Regions from separate parts of the Homo sapiens genome. Here regions 1 and 2 are each linked to region 3. The links are contacts of gene promoters, found by promoter capture Hi-C in human tissues and cell types (Jung and others, 2019). All regions are on one chromosome and are shown on one strand. Each heading gives the region's core, a stretch centred on a gene start or on the middle of the fragment in contact. The rest is flanking DNA. Distances are from core to core; before and after follow the strand shown. Region 1 has its middle 35 kb from the start of TMEM174. Region 2 has its middle 18 kb from the start of TMEM174. Region 3 holds the start of TMEM171 (transmembrane protein 171).

The links. Contacts are between HindIII fragments. The study calls those that stand out against the background at their distance.
Region 1: a contact is called between a fragment that was not itself captured here and the fragment with the promoter of TMEM171 in region 3, in 4 of the 25 tissues and cell types used here (H1 embryonic stem cells, IMR-90 fibroblasts, bladder and 1 more).
Region 2: a contact is called between a fragment that was not itself captured here and the fragment with the promoter of TMEM171 in region 3, in 4 of the 25 tissues and cell types used here (IMR-90 fibroblasts, aorta, dorsolateral prefrontal cortex and 1 more).

What each region holds. Positions count from the first base shown.
Region 1 is chr5:73,206,488-73,210,869 of GRCh38, forward strand. No RefSeq gene overlaps it. Among named protein-coding and RNA genes, the nearest start is that of TMEM174, 35 kb to the left of the region's middle. The HindIII fragment of the contact is 6,658 bases long and covers 1-4,382 here.
Region 2 is chr5:73,189,508-73,193,699 of GRCh38, forward strand. No RefSeq gene overlaps it. Among named protein-coding and RNA genes, the nearest start is that of TMEM174, 18 kb to the left of the region's middle. The HindIII fragment of the contact is 4,970 bases long and covers 1-4,192 here.
Region 3 is chr5:73,117,608-73,122,460 of GRCh38, forward strand. It overlaps TMEM171 (transmembrane protein 171), which reads left to right and starts at 2,968. Exons shown (of 4, transcript NM_173490.8): 1 at 2,968-3,089. It overlaps LOC124901001, which reads right to left and starts at 2,884. Exons shown (of 2, transcript XM_047417978.1): 1 at 1-2,884. The coding sequence starts at 2,822. The coding sequence ends at 2,121. RefSeq lists an enhancer at 1,807-2,358. The HindIII fragment of the contact is 7,583 bases long and covers 1-4,853 here.

The DNA.
Region 1 (4,382 bases), core at 1,342-3,841, 89 kb after region 3:
GATTACATAGGGCCCATCCAGCTAATCCAGGATAATCTCCTCATCTCAAGATCTATAACTTAATTACATCTGCAAAGTCCTTCTTGCCTTGTGAGGTAACTTATTCACAGGTTATGGGCATTAGGAAGTGGACATTTGGGGAAGGCCATTATTCTGTGTAGAGTGCTTTGTTGATTTCAAATTTGTTATCTTCCAAAAGATTTTCTCCAACCTATGACACCTACTTCCACTTGCCTGGTAGCAAATGTTGGTGGAAGGCAAAAAAGAAGAAAGAAGAGGGCTGGCAAGATGGCCAAATAGGAACAGGTCTGGTCTGCAGTTTCCAGTGACATCAACGCAGGAGGCGGGTGATTTCTGCATTTCCAATTGAGGTACCTGGCTCATCTCATTGGCACTGGTTAGACAGTGAATGGATGCAGCTCACAGAGGGTGAGCAGAAGCAGGGTGGGCTGTCGCCTCACCCGGGAAGCACAGGGGGTCGGGGAACTCCCTCCCCTAGCCAAGGGAAGCCGTGAGGGACTGTGCCGTGAGGGATGGTGCATTCTGGCCCAGATACTACGCTTTTCCCATGGTCTTCACAACCCACAGGCCAGGAAATTCCCTCGGGTGCCTACACCACTAGGGCCCTGGGTTTCAAGCACAGAACAGGGCAGCCATTTGGGCAGACACTGGGCTAGCTGCAGGAGTTTTTTTTTCATACCCCAGTGGCACCTGGAATGCCAGTGAGACAGAAACGTTAACCCCCTGAAAAGGGGGCTGAAGCCAGGAAAGCCAAGTGGTCTAGCTCACTGGATCCCACCCCCATGGAGCACAGCAAGCTAAGATCCACTGGTTTGAAATTCTCCCTGCCAGCACAGCAGTCTGAAGTCGACCTGGGATGCTGGAGCTTGGTGGGAGGAGGGGCGTCCACCATTACTGAGGCTTGAGTAGGTGGTTTTCCCCTCACAGTGTAAACAAACCCGCCGGGAAGTTTGAACTGGGTGGAGCCCAGGAGCTTGGCAAAGCTGCTGTAGCCAGACTGCCTCTCTAGATTCCTCCTCTCTGGGCAGGGCATCTCTGAAAGAAAGACAGTAGACCCAGTCAGGGGCTTATAAATCAAACTCCCATCTCCCTGGGACAGAGCACCTGGGGTAAGGGGGCAGCTGTGGGTGCACCTTCAGCAGACTTAAACGTTCCTGCCTGCCAGCTCTGAAGAGAGCAGCAGATCTCCCAGCACAGTACTTGAGCTCTGCTAAGGGACAGACTGCCTCCTCAAGTGGGTCCCTGACCCCTGTGCCTCCTGACTGGGAGATACCTCCCAGCAGGGGTCGACAGACATTTCATAAAGGAGAGCTCCAACTGGCATCTGGCAGGTGCCCCTCTGGGATGAAGCTTCCAGAGGAAGGAACAGGCAGCAGTCTTTGCTGTTCTGCAGCCTCCATGGGTGATACCCAGGCAAACAGAGTCTGGAGTGGACCTCCAGCAAACTCTAGCAGACCTGCAGCAGAGAGGCCTGACTATTAGAAGGAAAACTAACAAACAGAAAGGAATAGCATCAACATCAACAAAAAGGTTGTCCACACAAAAACCCCATCCGAAGCTTACCAACATCAAAGACCAAAGGTAGATAAATCCACGAAGATAAGGAAAAACCACCACAAAAAAAGCTGAAAATTGCAAAACCCAGAATGCCTCTTCTCCTCCAAAGGATCACAACTCCTTGCCAGCAAGGGAACAAAACTGGATGGAGAATGAGTTTGACAAATTGACAGAAGTAGACTTCAGAAGGTGGGTAATAACAAACTCCTATGAGCTAGAGGAGCATGTTCTAACCCAATGCAAGGAAGCTAAGAAACTTGAAAAAGGTTAGAGGAATTGTTAACTAGAATAACCAGTTTAGAGAAGAACATAGATGAACTGATGGAGCTGAAAAACACAGCATGAGAACTTCCTGAAGCATACACAAGTATGAATAGCCAAATCGATCAAGCAGAAGAAAGGATATCAGAGATTGAAGATCAACTTAATGAAATAAAGCATGAAGACAAGATTAGAGAAAAAAGAATGAAAAGGAATGAACAAAGCCTCCAAGAAATATGGGACTATGTGGAAAGACCAAACCTATGTTTGATTAGTGTACCTGAAAGTGATGGGGAGAATGGAACCAACTAGGAAAGCACTCTTCAGGATATCATCCAGGAGAACTTCCCCAGCCTAGCAAGACAGGCCAATATTCAAATTCAGGAAATAAAGAGAACACCACAAAGATACTCCTCGAGAAGAGTAATCCCAAGACACATAATTGTCAGATTCACCAAGGTTGAAATGAAGGAAAAAGAGCAGCCAGAGAGAAAGGTTGGGTTACTCACAAAGGGAAGCCCATCAGACTAACAGCAGATCTCTTGGCAGAAACCCTACAAGCCAGAAGAAAGTGGGGGGCCAATATTCAACATTCCTAAAGAAAGTAATTTTCAACCCAGAATTTCATATCCAGCCAAACTAAGCTTCAAAAACAAAGGAGAAATAAAATCCTTCACAGACAAGCAAATGCTGAGAGATTTTGTCACCACCAGGCCTGCCTTACAAGATCTCCTGAAGGAAGCACTAAATATGGAAAGGAAAAACCTGCACCAGCCACTACAAAAAGATGCCAAATTGTAAAGACCATCTACACCATGAAGAAATTGCATCAACCAATGGGCAAAATAACCAGCTAGCATCATAATGATGGATCAAATTCACACATAAAAATATTAACCTGAAATGTAAATGGGCTAAATGCCCCAATTAAAAGACACTGGTTGGCAAATTGGATAAAGAGTCAAGACCCATTGGTGTGCTGTATTCAAGAGACCCATCTCATGTGCAAAGACACACATAGGTTCAAAATAAAGGGATGGAAGAATATTTACCAAGCAAATGGAAAGCAAAAAAAGCAGAGGTTGCAATCCTAGTCTCTGATAAAACAGACTTTAAACCAACAAAGATAAAAAAAATACAAAGAAAGACATTACATAATGGTCAGGGATCAATGCAACAAGAAGAGCTAACTATCCTAAATATATATGCACCCAATACAGGAGCACCCAGATTCATAAAGCAAGTTCTTAGAGACCTCCAAAGAGACTTAGACTCCCACACAATAATAGTGGGAGATTTTAACACCCCACTGTCAATATTAGACAAATCAACAAGACAGAAAATTAACAAGGATATTCAGGACTAGAACTCAGCTCTGGACCAAGTGGACCTAATAGACATCTATAGAACTCTCCACCTCAAATCAACAGAATATACATTCTTCTTGGCACCACATCACACTTATTATAAAACTGACCACATAATTGGAAGTAAAACACTCCTCAGCAAAAGAACAGAAATCATAACAAACAGTCTATCAGACCACCGTGCAATCAAATTAGAACTCAGGATTAAGAAACCCACTCAAAACTGCACAACTACATGGAAACTGAACAACCTGCTCCTGAATGACTACTGGGTAAATAACGAAAGAAGGCAGAAATAAATAAGTTCTTTGAAACCAATGAGAACAAAGACACAACGTGTGAGAATCTCTGGGACACAGCTAAAGCAGTGTTTAGAGGAAAATTTATAGCACTAAATGCCCACAGGAGAAAGCAGGAAAGATCTAAAATCGACACCCTAACATCCCAATGAAAAGAACTAGAGAAGCAAGAGCAAACTAATTCAAAAGCTAGCAGAAGACAAGAAATAACTAAGATCAGAGCAGAAGTGAAGGAGACAGAGACACGAAAAACCCTTCAAAAATTCAATGAATCCAGGAGCTGTTTTTTTGAAAAGATTAACAAAATAGATAGACTGCCAGCCAGACTGATAAAGAAGAAAACAGAGAAAAATCAAGTAGACACAATAAAAAATGATAAAGGGGATATCACCACTGATCCCACAGATATACAAACTATAATCAGAGACTACTATAAACATCTCTATGCAAATAAACTAGAAAATCTAGAAGAAATGGATAAATTCCTGGACACACACACCCTCCCAAGACTAAACCAGGAAGAAGTCAAATCCCTGAATAGACCAATAACAAGTTCTGAAATTGAGGCAGTAATTAATAGCCTACCAACCAAAAAAAGCTCAGGACCAGATGGATTCATGGCCGAATTCTACCACAGGTACAAAGACAAGCTGGTACCATTCCTTCTGAAACTATTCCAAACAATAGAAAAAGAGGGACTCCTCCCTAACTCATTTTATGAGGCCAGCATCATCCTGATACCAAAACCTGGCAGAGACACAACAAAAAAAGAAAAATTCAGGCCAATATCCCTCATGAACATCGATGCAAAAATCCTCAATAAAATACTGGCAAACTGAATCCAGCAACATATCTAAAAGCATATCCACCACCATCA
Region 2 (4,192 bases), core at 619-3,118, 71 kb after region 3:
TTAACTAAACCATGACACCAAGGACTTGTTTGTATCACATATTTGTCTCATATGGCTGGATTTTTGTGGGATTTTTTTTGATCCCCCATCTTCCTACTTGAAGGACATCAGTTGTTATGGACACAGTGACATTAAATTCATATGGCAAGATTTGACATAAACAAAGTAAAGTAAGTTCATTCCAGAGGCTGTGACTTAATAAGCTCGAATTTTCCAGAATTTAACCTGGTCCCTGAGTTTGGTGGGGACAGGATGGGAGGGAGGAAGAGCAGGAAGCCAGACACCTTTGGGAGCTGCCACGAGTTCTTTGGGAGCATTAGAGCTATATTTGGTGCAATTAAGTTGCTAATTCAGTAAAAACTACACAGTTCCCTTGTGGCCTGGGAAAGTAAAATGCAGCTGCTAAAGGTGGCTGATTTACAAGCCGGGAATGGCTGAGGTACCGGGGGAAATGAGCCAGATTCTTCCAAAAGCCTAAATCACTCTCTTAGTCAGGCGATCAAAACAGCATGCTCACCCTGGGCAGAGCACCAGAGTTGGGCAGCCTCCAAAACTGGCCTTGAAAAAATTCCCAGTTTTTCAGCAGGATTAGACCCTTGCCTCTCCTTCATTCCTCAGAAGGATGCAGAAAGTGTAAGGGATTCCTTAAAGGATCACAGTTCAGTCCCTACACTTTCCCAAACCCCAATCCCGACCCAAGGGAAAACAACGTAAAAGGCAGAGAGGTATGTATTTAGTCTGTGATCTGTTCCATTAGCAAGTTCAGGTCACTGGGGATTGCATCAGGCCAGCTGGGGTGGGCGGGGCTCATCTGAAGGGCTATGCAGACTATCTACCACACATCCTCAGTGGGCACCATTCACAGCATAGTCTAATTTACTGGTTCTCAAACATGGTGGGTGCATATTAGAATTACTTGGGCATTTAAAAAAATCCCAAGCCAGGATGCAACTCAGAACAATTACATCAGACAACCTGGAGGAGGGACTAAGACATCAATAATGTTTAAATTTCCTCCAAATGTTTCCAACATGCAGCTGAGTTTAAGGCCCAGTGGTCTCATTCATGTAGACTTTGATGTGAATGGCACTCCCTGTAGCTGTGCTGAGTATGACCTGCAAAGACATATTTCATAGTCCTAGGTGGAGGTGGAGATGCAAAGAGTTAGCAGAGGACAATAGGGAGATGGGGATGCCTTCTAGGAAAAAAAAGACATGTCAAAAGGAAATCTAGAAAGTGGCCCTCACACCAGCCTCCTGTGACTAGGGTTGCCTGTAGACTGGGTAAAAAAAAAAATAAGACATTCTATTATTTGGGGCTCCTGAACAGTTTACATGATCCCAGATTTCTCTCCTGTTAATCTGCTCTAGTTCCTAATCTTCATTTCTTGGATATTGTCTTAGATATGTATTTTATGTAATTAAAATAGCAACCAACAAACACTCATGCATCACTTCAGAGTTTGCAAAGCCGTGTTTCAATGCCCATTATCCTCACCGGGATGACTCATAAAGTCTCTGCCCCCTGTCTGTGGAGTCCAAGTCCCTTTCTTTCTCAGATCCAGGTGCCATTAGAACTGGAGGATTGGTTTTTCACCAGCTTCTACACAGAGGTTTCCCACCTATGGTGTCTGCTGGGAATTTTTTTTCCTTTGCTGAATTTTTAATTACTGTGAAACAACTTGGAGCATGAGTTTATGGGCAAAATCAGCATTTCCAATGTGGCCTCATCCTTGCTCAAGGTAGGGCCCCAGGTCAAATGGCCGTCTGATCTCCACCAAAGGCCCAGTGTTAGGCACAAAGGAGGCACTTAGCAGCGCTTTGTGGAACAAATGCAGAGTGGATGCTGCGTTGGCAAACCATGCAGGCAGCCACCAGTCAGGAGAAAGGCTCTGGGTGCTGAGAGGGAGACTTACAGCCACAGAAAAGAACGGAATATTCCAAGCTTAAGTAGTTTTAAATTTGGTTGAGGATTCTGGTCTTAGCCCATCTTCAGCCTTGTCAAAGGCAATAGTCAAAGAGGGCTCCCGAAACTGTCCTGGTGAGCCAGAATGCAGGCTGAGTTCACAGTCTGGGTCCTCGGGTGGCCTAACACTCATGTGCAGTCACCAGGTCTCTGGTCCACAGGCAGTAGGAGCAGAGCAGCCAATTTCCTGTAGCCAAAAGACTTGGCCCCTGACTGGCTGAGTGGCTGTGAACACGTCCCTGAAAATTGTCATGCCTCTGTCTCTTTGATCCGACAAGTGGGGTTAATAGTCCCAGCCTCTTAATGTTGCTGTGAGACTCAGCTGCTGTTTAGCACGGCGCTCCATAAATGGTGGCAGTGGTATTATTGCAGGCTCCGGTCTATCTCCGATTTTACTGCCTTCACCAGTGAAAACCAGCAGGGCGAGCCTGGTCTCCTTCCTGTTCCCCACAGCCTGATCTGACAGGCTCTCTATCACCGGGCCATGATGTGTGCTTGTTTCATGGATCAGGAGATAACTAATACTTTTAGCAGGATATATTTGAACTGTAAGGTTCCAGTTCAGTCCTTTTCTTTAAGGACCTAGAATAGTGATTAAGAAAATAAGTTCCGGAGTCAAAATGGGCTCAAAGTTTTGCTCTACCACTGTGCTATATATAGCCTTGATGATAGGGTTTGGCTGCATCCCCACCCAAATCTTACCTTGAATTATAATCCCCATAATCCCCACGTGCTGTGGGAGGAACCTGGTGGGAGGTAATTGAATCATGGAGCCAGTTTCTCCCATGCTGTTCTAGAGCTAATGAGTGAGTTCTCATGAGATCTGATGGTTTTATAAGCGTCTGGCATTTCCCCTGCTGGCACTCATTCTCTCTCCTACTGCACTGTGAAAAGGCACCTTCTGCCATGATTGTAAGTTTCCTGAGGCCTCCCCAGCCATGTGGAACTGTGAGTCAATTAAACGTCTTTTCTTTATAAATTACTCAGTCTCAAGTATTTCTTCATAGCAGTAGGAGAATGGACTAATACACTTGGGCAAGGTTCTTGCCCTCGGTAAAGTGTCAATGTCCACATCTGTGAAATGAAATTGATGCTACTGTTTATGGCATAGGTTTATTGGGAGAATCAAAGGATATAATGCCTGGGACATAATTAGCACGTGATATGGGCAGTCCTGTTTATATCTCCCCTCCCTGTGATCTAGGACTAAAGACTCTCTTAGTAAATTCTCCCATGGTTTCCCATGGCAGTTCTGGCCAACTTCAGCTCTGTTCAACTCCAAGGATGCCGGGAAAGCCCTATTTTCCAGGAGTTTTCCTTCCAAAGTGTCCTCACTTGATGGAAATTTCTTAACTCCAAAAAGAGCTCTTGGGGCCAGGCACAATAGCTCACACCTGTAATCTCAGCACTTTGGGAGGCTCAAGCAGGTGGATCACTTGAGGCCAGGAGTGTGAGACCAGCCTGGCCAACATGGCGAAACCCCATCTCTACTAAAAATACAAAAATTAGTCAGGCATGGTGGTGAGCGCCTGTAACCCCAGCTACTCAGGAGGCTGAGGCCGAGAATTGCTTGAACCTGGGAGGTGGAGGTTGCAGAGAGCCAAGATCACACCACTGTACTCTAGCCTGAGCAACACAGCGAGACTCTGTCTCAAAAACCAAAAACTAACCAAACAAAAAAACCTTACCAGTTTTCACACAGGTACACACAGGTAGTAAGTAATAGAGCTGGATTTAAATACAGGCAATCTCCTTATAAAATCAGCATGATGTGGGGGTGGACAGAGGGAGGTGGCATTAAGCAGTTTAAAATTTGACTTGATAAGGCTGGGGATACCATGCTTAGCCTGTGGTGAAAGTATAGAAAGGATGAAACTAGTTCTGGAGGGTTCTTGCTTTCTAGGGCAATAGCCATCCTTGAAATTATTCTAACATTTGATCACTTGTCTTAGTGTGCCACTTCAAGTCACCTCTCACTTTTTCTCCCATTGTTCCTGCAGGTAGATCATGTCCTGTTTCAGTAGGGATGATATACCTGTGCCAATTCACCTGTGCTATTTAGAACAGACACTTTCTGCCAAGTGTACCACCCCACACCTTGCCAGACTGCTCCACCCAAAAAGCAGGGCCTGGGGTGGGTGACCCACATAAGGTGGCGACTCCTAAACCTAATAATAACTCCTACCCTGTGGGGTCAACTATTTTGTGTTTGTTCATGGCCCCAAGC
Region 3 (4,853 bases), core at 1,718-4,217:
ATGTGCCACCTTGGCAGCAGATCCTCCAGCCCCAGTCCAGCCTTCAGATGACCACAGCCCTGGCCAACTGCTAGACTGCAGCCTCTGAGAGGCTCAGCCAGAAGTACCCAGCTAAGCCACTTGCAGTTTCTGACCCTGATCAGAAACCCTGAGAATACATTTTTGCTGTTTCAAACTTCAAAGTTTTGGGGTAAGTTGTTATGCAATAATAGATCATTGATACACTTGCTTCCTCATTCCCTTCAAGTTTTTGCTGCAATCTCACCTTCTCAGAGATGCCTTCCTTAACTCCCCTATTTAAAATGGGGTGCTCCCCAGTCCCCATCTGTGATTTATTGTTCTCCCTGGCACTCAATCACTTTCTAATTCTCTGTATAACTTACATATTTTATTGCCTTTCTCCTCAATAAAATACAAGTTCCGTGTTTTATTGGTAGTTGGTAAATCTGTGCTGGCTAAATACATGAACACATGCCTCTGCTTTATGCTTCTACAGTCACTGAATTCGAGGTTTTTAATCTTGTTCTGATGCTGTTTTTCTAAGGATTCGGTCTGGCTTTTATCTTTTTCACTACCACACAGGCCAGGGAAGACCACTAGATAGTGACCAGGCCACGCAGCTTCTCTCCTAAGGCTAGGTGGGCTACAAAGATAAGTACCTCAAAGGCTGGTGGGTATGTCTTTCATACATAATCGATGATCAATTTCCAAGGAGTTTAATTTAGTCAAACAGGCTCTCATAGACACAAACAGTGAGAACAGCAGATATACCAAGTGGAGGCTAATCTGATTGTCCTTGGTGCCAGGATATTCAAGTCTGTCATGGGTGGTGAGCCTGCAGTCATGTGGCACCAGAGGGGCAGCTGTATCAACAGGCCCCTTGCAGGCCTGCACATGACATGGCCAGAGATTCAGTTTCAAATAAGGGGGAAGGGAAGAATGAGTAGGGAAAGGACAAGGAAACCCTTTTGCACAATGAAGAGTTGTTCACAGGCCTGTGTCAGAGGGGACAAATCCTATAATGAGGGCCTGAGTTCTTAGAAAGCCAGTGCCTGCTGTTGTACAATCCACTCTTGGGTATCTGCCCATTCGCTGGACATGCTTTGGTGCCCTTCCAGAAGGTGGTATACCTTGACACTTGGACCAGGAAGGATATCTCCACCCCAAACATAGATTACTGCAATGTCCTTGGGACACAGTGCCTGTATTGTTATAATAATCTAAACGTGCTTGGCATCACAAGGCCATGAGGGCGTTTTCTGGGTTCACAGCATGGTGTGTTCTCTGAGTGACAGGTGTGCTGCGGGAGAAACACTGAATGGTCAGCGCATCTGCATCTGGCTCAGGCCTTCTCTGCATGTCAACCAGCTGCAGAGGTTACTTTACCTCTGTCAGCCTGGACCTCAGTTTCCTCAACTGACAAATGACTGTTTTTCTCAGTCTCCTGTCCCCTGCTGCCTCCAACCTTTTCTGAACTGCTGGAGAGATGTAGCAAAGAACCACAAAGCAAGGGGTCGTGAGTGTTGGCATTGTTCATTTCGACAGTAATCAGGGCTGTTAGTTATGGCGGGGATTTACAGAGGTCGGGCACCCTGGCTATGAAAAAGTCCACCTTTGGCCACCCAGGCAAGTGCCCCACCAAATTCCAATGGCAAGAACTTGTCCGTTCTGCCTCCCTGGTGAACCCTAAAGCCCAGGTAACCCCCTCCCCTCTTTACCTCTCTGACTGGTTCTTTAAGTCTCTTCTCACCTCTGATGATTAGCTAAGCCTGCTTCATACTTTACCTTCAGTGAGCATGACCAGGAATCTCTTGTTGTATCAGGTAGGTAAAGTGCTTGCTTGCACATTGAAAAGTTTCATCCATTGGCCTTAACTCTAGATAGGGTTTCAGGCAAGGCAGACAGGAAGCTGAGAAGAGAAGGCAGGGCTGGGAAGTCCCCGTGGCTCAGGGCACCTCTGCGCTTGGGCAGAGAACCCTTGACTCACCTTCCACCGTGCCCTGACCCCTGGTGTGGAAACTAGCACAGTTGGATCCGTATCACGTGTCACGGGGCTGGTTACAAATAGCACAGGGATTGGCAAACTCATCCCGAAACTCCCGGTTCAAGGGCAGGGAAAGTTACCAGTTTAATTCCGGCAGATCATTAGTGGTGGAGAACCAGGAAGGGGGTTCTATCGCAAAGGAGGGCTGTGCGCAGACACGTGGGTGCGGGAGGGGCAGAGCTGGTCCGGCGCGGGGCTTGCCGCGTCTCGGCCTCAGTCTCGGAGCCAGGACCTCAGGCCTGAATGGCTGGGTGTGGAGGGCCCTTGTCTCACATTCTGTAGAGCGCACGTCGTCCCGTGACCTGGTGGCTCCATATTCGATGGGGAGCTCGCAGCGAGTCGCTTCCCTCTGTAACCCCACTCCAGGTCTCCAGAGCAGTAGGAGGGCCACAGGGCTGCTGGGTGTAGTCGCCCCGGACCTCGCGGTGGCCAAGGCCAAGGCGGCCGGGGCACGGTACCCTGTTCGGCCTGGGCCGCAACCACGAAGGAGGCGGTGGAGGCGGGGGCCGGCGCTTCCTCCGCGCCCCCCACGCCGCCGCTCTCTCGCGCCCCTATAGAACTGGGCCTCAGGCCTCGAGGGGGAGCGGGCCTCGGCGGGCGGGGCGCACAGTTCCGCCAGCCGGCGGGGGCATCTCAACTCGCCGGCCCCGCCAGGTGTGCGGGCCAGGCAGCCGTGGAAGGTGCCCATTTCTCCCAGATTCCTCGCGCGCACGGCCACGAGCGCGGAGGCTGCCAAACCCGCCAGCCCTGGGTTCCGAAGCCGCCCCTGGCTCTCCATTCCCTCGCGGGCGCGCCCCGGGCCCCCAGTGGCGGCCAGCTCCCACCGGTCGCTCCTGCACTGCCCTGCCCTGCCCTCCCCGGGCCGCCGCGCCCGCGCAGCACCGCCTCCTTCTCTAAATACTGCCGGGTCCGCCCTCCGCACCAGGACGCGCGGTGGGTAGGGTGCAGGGCGGCCGGCGCAGCCGAGGCCGCGTGCGGAGGCGGACGCCGCGCCCAGCCAGTGCCCACAGCAGCGCGGTCAGCCAGGCGCCGGACCCAGCTTCAGGTAAGCTGCCCCGGCCCGCGCGCCTGCGCCGGCGGCGGCGGGTCGGGCGCTGAGCTGTGCGGCCAGGCTGGGCGCGGGGAGCCGCGGCAGCGCGGAGGCGCTGGGTATCCGAGCCCAACCTGCGTCCCTGCGAGCCCCTCCGGCTGTTGCTTGCGCTCGGGCTCCCTAAAAGCCGCAAACCGATTTCGCACAGAAGGCATTTGCCTCTCGTTTCGTTCCCCAAACGCACCATAGCTTTGGACGTGGAGAGGTGCTGTGAATTTTGGAAATGTCTTTTGGAAAACCAATAGGAGTGTTGGAGAGGGGAGTTTGGCTTTGGGGAGTTTAAGTGTAGGGTGGTGTTTGGAAAAGGTTTCATTGCGAGTGAATGTGGGTGTCTTTGTATCCGTTTGTGAGTGCATCTGTGGGAGAAGGAGAGAGAGAGAGTATTTCCACACTATTATGGATCAGAGGTGAACACTCAGCCAGGTGCTCCGTCCACTAGTCCACGGACAAGAAACTACAGATTCAGTTTTGGGCTTCTATTTACTGGTGTTTGGGAATTTGCCTTAAGACAGTTGAAGCCTTGTGACTCACTGCAAAGTTGACTATACTGGGAATAAATGAATTCCTGATAGGACTTTGCAGCCGAGAATCACCCTTCTCTTTCTTGTCTCCGAAACCGCAAAAGAGATTGCATGATTCAGGAAAAAAATTAAAACAACAACAATAACAAAAAACCAATATATATAGGTTTCAGGACTCTCCATCGTTTCATTCCACTGAGAGTTTTGGAATGTACTCCCTGTAGGATAAATGAGGACTACTGTATACTCAATATGAAATTCTTATTCACTGCAGGATGTTACTGACTTAATAAAAAATGGGAAGATTAAAAAATTAGTGCAATGCTTTGTCTCAGCTTAACTGCATCTGTATATCAAGTTTTTCCAAGTTTGAAATGAAAGCTTTTTTCCCTCCTATATTTCCTTTTTTTCTCCAACTTCCTTCTGATTCTATCATACTTTTTCCTGGAAAAGTTTTTCCCAGTGTAAGATTGCCTGTTTGCTTTCTTTACCTAAACTGACCTTCCCTCAGTGTGATTTTGGTTTGTCAAGATCATCTTGGGCTTAGGGCCTCAGTCTTGAGTTCCTTCATGGGACCATGGATGTGAGCGGCACAAAATATTTTAAAAGTTTTCTTTCCTTGGGCAGGTGAAAATAGTCTTCACGATTTTGGATTGTCTTTGCAATTGCAGGACCTGACTTACGGGGTCCTGGTAAAATATCCCATTCATTGGAGTAAAATAAGATAACGAGATAATTAGGTCAGCTCTGTGTAAGCTAGACAACTCTTTAACAACCACTTGGCATATTTAATATATTATACCCCTGAAGTACAGGGCTTGGGTGATTTTCTGGAAGGTGCTTTCTCACTTGATTCCACTTATACTATTCTTTCAAAGCCAAGTTCCCCCCTTCCACCCATTTTGTGCTTTATAACTAGCAGTTTTATTGGCTGCTTGTTTTTTAACTGAGTCTCAACCTCTTTGTGGAAGTAGGTGACACCATGGAGGAGGGTGAGTGAGAGGCCACACCAGCCTTTGGGTACCTGTCCACTCTGAAAATTGAGCTCCTGTTGACCTGCTGTGCAACACTTTCCAGGGTCATCCCAGATCCAAGCAACTGGGTCACCAGTCTGTGCTTGTTGAGAACCCAAGAACCATTTTGTTTTGTTTTGTTTTGTTTTTGGCAGGGTCTCACTCTGTTGCCCAGGCTGGAGAGT